Linked DNA regions of Homo sapiens: region 2 is linked to region 1. The links are contacts of gene promoters, found by promoter capture Hi-C in human tissues and cell types (Jung and others, 2019). All regions are on one chromosome and are shown on one strand. Each heading gives the region's core, a stretch centred on a gene start or on the middle of the fragment in contact. The rest is flanking DNA. Distances are from core to core; before and after follow the strand shown. Region 1 holds the start of ATP2A2 (ATPase sarcoplasmic/endoplasmic reticulum Ca2+ transporting 2). Region 2 has its middle 11 kb from the start of C12orf76.

Region 1 (2,786 bases), core at 18-2,517:
AAGAACTGCTACAATTCTAAGCATCAATATCTTTAAAACACAGACCTAGCTATAAGAATATCCGATTTTTTTAGCAGAGGGCATACCACGAAGATATCTCAAGGAAGCATGCACTCTTTGTAATCAATGGCCTGAGGTCTAGCCCTAAGCGTGAAATCACTTCGGGCTCCTGAACCTAGGAGTGGTTTCAGCGATGTCATCACTTCTGCCAGATGTGTAACTTTGGGTAGGACAAGAACGGTCAGAGGCCTTCCAACGACCTCGACTCCTCATAAATCGGCAGGGGACGAGAAAACGTCTTGCCGGGCTCAACCTAGCTGCAGAAGCCACGTCCCTCCCTCCACCGGGGCCGGCTGCTGCTGGAGAGAAGCCTCCGAGCCTTGCGCGCCGAAAAGGTCGAGGGCCCGAGAAGCGAAGAGGTCCAGGGAAGGCGAGGCGAGGACCGCAGCCCCTTTCTCTCCCGCGGGGCCGGCGCGCTGGCCCGACCCTCCGCCCGCAGCTGTCGGCGGGCGCGGAGCCGAAGCCCACGAGGTGGAGCCCGGTCAGCCATCTTCCCTGGCTCTCCCGGCCGCGCCGGGCCCCTGCAGCGGAGCGCCCTGCACCTACCGTTGGAGCCCCATCTCTCCTTAAGCTTCTTGACCTGTTCCAGGCTCAGCCCCGTACTCTCGTTGACGCCGAAGTGGCCCAGCACCTCCTCCACCGTCTTGGTGTGCGCGTTCTCCATGGCTTCGGGGGCCCGGCCGGCCTCGCCTCCCGTCCCCGCGGCCTCCTCGCCTCCGCCTCGCACTCCGGCCGCGGGCTCGTGCCACCCCGGGAGCCCAGGCGCGGACGGGCTCTCCCCTCCTCCTCTTGCGGCCGCTTCCGCCTCGCCGGGCGCTGAATCACCCCGCGCCCCCTCCCCCAGACAACCGCCCCTCGCGCGGCCCCGAGCTCCGCAGGGCGGGTTGGGGGCTCCTGACCCACCCTCCCTCCCCTCGCCAGAAGGGAGGGCCTCCCTCGCCCTCAGCCGCCCGCCGGGAGGGCAGGCCGCGGCCCCCGAGCCCCCTCCCCGCTCTCTTGAGGCGATCAGAGGCCCCGCCCGGGCCGGAGGAGGGGGCGCCCGGCAGACCACTGAGGGCGGAACGCGGCGAGGGAGGCGAGCCGGCGGGGCGGTGCGCGGCGCGCTCGCCCGGGTCCCTCAGCGCCGCACGCCCGACAGCGGCGGAGGAAACTGCGGCGAAGGAAAAGGAGGTGGCGTCGGGGACGGCTCCGCGGCGGCTGCTCTAATAGCATTTATCGGCCGCTGCCTCCCCTTTCGCCGCCGCCGCGGCATGTGGACGCCGCTCATTGGCCGAGAGCGCCCAGCGCGGCGCGGGCGGCGCGGCCCCGCCCCCTCCTCCCGGCTCCCTCCTCCCGCGCGCCTGGCGCCCACGCTGCCGCGCAGGCCCCGCCCCCTCCCGCGCGCCGCCCCTAGGAACCCGGATCGAGGCCGCGCGCGCCGCGGTCGCGGGGCTGGCGGAGGGGAAGCTGGGTACCCTCTTCTGTGCCTGCGGTTCTCTGACCCACCCACCTGCAGACGCAGGGTGGGGCGCTCACAGTGGGCACGCTGCTCTGGGGCCGGTGGGCGGATGGTTGGAAGGCGAGGCCGAGGAGCTGGGAGCGCGGTCCACGCGGGGCGTCTCGAGGCGCCCTCGGGCTGATGTCCTTGGCTCGCCTCCTCGCCCTCGGTCGCCCGGGCTGCGCTCTGCATCCTAATCTGGCTCCTTCAGAGCCCCCCTCAGAAACCAAGGGGAGGAATTCCGCAGTTCACTTCCCACACAACCCAAATCCTTCATCTGTCGCCTCGGGAACACCGCATCCTACACCCCCTGCCGCCAGCTCCTTCGCACGCCAGCCCCGATTCTTCCCCAGCGGGTTCTGGGCCCTGACGAGGGAACCCCCCTCGCGGGGGGGAGGGAGAAGAGTTGATTTTATTATTAATAGCTGACGCAGCGCTTGATAGGTGTCTGCAGGGCAGTCACAGTTCACGCCGCTGGAGCTGCCACACAGCAGCTAGACTTGGGCTAGGAGGTGCTTCGCTGTGGCTTTCAGATGAAGGCCATTTCATAGACTCACTTCCCTCGACAGGAGAAAAGGGGACTTGAATCCAAAGCTGCTCTTAAACCACAGATGATTTGCTCTGCTCGGGAGGACAAAGCGCAGGTCACAGCAAGATAAAGGGAATTTTGCCAATATAAAGAAGCTACATTACTTAACAAGGGGATGGGAAATTGCATGGAATTCATGAACAAAACATGAACATATTCTCTTCACAAAGAAGAGCAGCTTTCTTCACGGAGTAGGTTGCAGAATGAAGCAATTAGTCCACTTTTGTGTTTAACAATAACGCACCATCCGCATGAGCAAAAGCAGAGCAGAAAAATCACCTCAGTTGTCTCAAGTGGCTGGGCTTCAGGACTTAAGATAAATTCCTTCAGCAGATGCAAATTACAGTGCATCACCAGCTGAAAAAATCAGGCACGTCATGTCATTTAATTATTTCCAAGGAGTGGACGTTGGCATGTAGTTTTGATTGATACTTGGAAAAGAACCAACAAAACCCTACACGAAACAAACAAACAAAAAATTATACTATATGGCAACGCACTGAGAGAAGCCAGGTGGAAACTGGTTAGGTCACAGGATCAGAGCCGCTTCAAGAGGGGCACGTGAGTGCACGGTGGGAGTGTGGTCATGGAGGGCTGGCTGTTGTTGCCCTCTGAGACCAGCTCTGCACCATTTCGTACCAATTCTTCTCCCTTACCTCC
Region 2 (3,104 bases), core at 104-2,603, 220 kb after region 1:
CTCCGCCTCCCGGGCTCAAGTGATTCTCCTGTCTCAGCCTCCTGAGTAGCTGGGATTACAGGTGCCCGCCACCACACCTGGCTAATTTTGTATTTTTAGTAGAGATTGGGTTTCACCATGTTGGGCAGGCTGGTCTTGAACTCCTGGCCTCAGGTGATCCGCCCACCTCAGCCTCCCAAAGTGCTGGGATTTCAGGCATGAACCACTGCGCCTGGCCTGAGATGTAGGTTTCTATATCACCAGCATATAGATGGGAACTAGAACCATGGAAGAAGCTGCAATTCACCAGCAAGAGAAGAAGTAGATGAGAAAGCAAGAGGGCCTAGAACCGACCCCGGAGAAGGGCTAACCTTTAAGGGGTGGGAGTGCTGAAGTCCCCAAAGGATTCTGAGAAGGAGTAGCCACAGAGATCCAATGAAAGTCAGGCAAAGGTGGATTCCTGCAAGCTAAGGGAAGGAGGTGAGGGAGGTGGGGCATGGTCACAGTGTCAACTGGTGCTGAGAGTTCCAGGAAGATCAGCTATGTGGTGTGTCTATTGGATTTAGTGACAATGACGTTGTTGTTTACTTGGCAAGAGAGGCTTTAGAGAAGGGATGGGGGTGGGAGCCAGACTGGAGTGGGCGGAGGAGTGAATGGAGATGCAGAAATGGATATGATGACTCACTCTTTCAGGGGACTTGGCTATGAAGAAGAGAGGCATGGAGTGGTGGTAAGAGAATGTGGGATTGAAGAGGGGGTATTTTGGAGACAGAGTTTCACTCTTGTTGCACAGGCTGGAGTGTAATGGGGTGATCTCGGCTCACCGCAACCTCCGCCTCTGGGGTTCAAGCTATTCTCCTGCCTCAGCTTTCTGAGTAGCTGGGAATACAGGCATGTGCCACCATGCCTGGCTAATTTTGTATTTTTAGTAGAGAAATGATGTTAAGTGCAGATGGAAAGGGGACAGGAGAGAAAGGGAAGTTGATGTGGTAAATGAAAATTATCTTCATCATCTTCCTCACCATCACCAGCAGTAACCACAAGGAAAGCTTGTTCTGCTCTGGGACTGCCCTGTCACTTTTCTTCCTGAGAAAATGAGCCAAAATCTTTCCCCCTGTAACTTTCACCTTTGCTTAGTTTTGCCTTGTGTCCCTCTTCAAATGGCTGCACACTGCTACTATGTCTCTCCTCTTCTTCAAACTCACAGCCTCCATCCTACAGGCCATGTGCTCTCAGCCTGGCGACCAGACCCTCAACTGTCTCAACCAAGTTCACACCGCTTGTTTGTCAAGCCCCTCTTAAGAGGCAGTGTACACACTCTTGCTTTGGTGATGGAAGCATGAAATGGTTCAAGCATTTATGATTTAGGAAAATAAACTCAGATAGAAAATGTGCACACCCTTTGACCCAGAAGTCCTGTATAGACTTAATGCCTTAGGTGTGTGAAGAAGCTTGTGCAGGGATTTCTGGCAACATGAATGTGGGGTGGACAGACAGTGAGCACAGTTGTTAGGAGCATAGCCTGAGTGCATTCTTCCTGAGATCAGGAACAGGACGAGGATGCCCGCTTTCACCGCTGCTGTTCAACATTGTACTGGAAGTTCTAGCCAGAGCAATTAGACAAGAAAAGCAATAAAAGGCATCCAGATGGCAAAGAATGAAGTAAAACTATCTTTAATCACAGATGGCACAATCCCATATATGGAGAATCCCGAAGAATTCACAAGAAAACTATTAGATAGAGCTAATTAACCAATTCAGTAAAGTCGCAAGGAACAAGATCAACACACAAAAATTAATTGTGTGTGTGCATTTTTTTTTACACCAGCAAGGAACATTTGAAAAGGAAATTGGAAAAATAATTCCATTTACCATAGCATTTAAGAGAGCTGAGGCTGTGGAGCCAGATGGCTGCGTTCAGAGCTGGCGCTGCTGTTTACCATGTGACCTTGGACAAGCTTCTCGCTTCATTCATACCACAGTTTGTTCGGCTATTAGGTGGAGGTAATACTAGCACCTTCCTTATAGAGTTGGTTTTTGTTTTCATTTTTTTGGTGGGGGGGAGTAAGAATTGCAAAAGTTAATATATGTCAGCAAAATAGACTTAGAAGAGTGGTTGGCACATGGTAAGGACATATTAGGGTTACCAAAAATTGTTTATAATTGGGAAAATTGAACAAAAGTTACAGTTAAATATCTATCCCAGAGACTGACTGGCAAATTATCACAATGTACCTCTTAGCTTGAGCCATATGGAACTGCCTGTATTCTATAGCTATGGCCTACAAAATGGGCAGTTCTTTCTTTCTTTTCTTTTTTTTGGAGAGAGAGTCTCACTCTGTTGCCCAGGCTGAAGTGCAGTGCAGTGGCATGATCTCGGCTCACTGCAACCTCCGCCTTCCAGGTTCAAGTGATTCTCCTGCCTCAGCCTCCCAAGTAGCTGGGATTACAAGCATGCACCACCACAACTGGATAATTTTTGCATTTTTAGTAGAGACAGGGTTTCCGCCATGTTGGCCAGCCTGGTCTTGAACTCCTGGCCTCAAGTGATCTGCCCGCCTTGGCCTCCCAAAGTGCTGGGATTACAGGCGTGAGGCACCATGACCTGCCAAAATGGGCAGTTTCATATATTCAATCACTAGGATACTCTTTAGCCACTGAAAATGATTGTGTATCATAGATCTATCTTTATCACAGATATCTTTACTGTCATAGAAAGAATTAATAACATATTATTGAGTAAAAATAGCAAGTTACAAAACAGCCTGCAGCCTGTAGTGTGGCCACGTTTGTAACATCAGTATATCTGTTTGTGTGTCTAGGTGTGGACATAAAGAGATATCTAGAAGACACTCAAAAGTTTCAACAATGATTGCCTGAGTGATTTGTGCTGGGATCTTCTTTTTTTTTTTTTTTTTTTTTTTTTGAGACCGAGTCTCTCTCTGTTGCTCAGGCTGGAGTTTGCAATGGCGTGATCTTGGCTCACTGCAATCCCCGCCTCATGGGTTCAAATGATTCTCCCACCTCAGCCTCCCGAGTAGCTGGGATTATAGGCGCCCACCACTGTGCCTGGCTAATTTTTGTATTTTTAGTAAAGACGGGGTTTTGCCATGTTGGGCAAGCTG

Evidence for each region. The method cuts DNA at HindIII sites, captures the fragments that hold promoters and counts their contacts. A contact is called where the count stands out against the background at its distance.
Region 2: a fragment that was not itself captured here is called in contact with the fragment with the promoter of ATP2A2 in region 1 in 1 of the 25 tissues and cell types used here (mesenchymal stem cells).

The regions. Positions count from the first base shown.
Region 1 is chr12:110,279,728-110,282,513 of GRCh38, reverse strand. ATP2A2 (ATPase sarcoplasmic/endoplasmic reticulum Ca2+ transporting 2) reads right to left here and starts at 1,267. Exons shown (of 20, transcript NM_170665.4): 1 at 607-1,267. The coding sequence starts at 724. RefSeq lists enhancers at 1-572, 1,690-1,759 and silencers at 400-909, 1,000-1,599. The HindIII fragment of the contact is 9,241 bases long and covers 1-2,786 here.
Region 2 is chr12:110,057,867-110,060,970 of GRCh38, reverse strand. It overlaps a transcript of C12orf76 not described here. Among named protein-coding and RNA genes, the nearest start is that of C12orf76, 11 kb to the right of the region's middle. The HindIII fragment of the contact is 4,989 bases long and covers 1-3,104 here.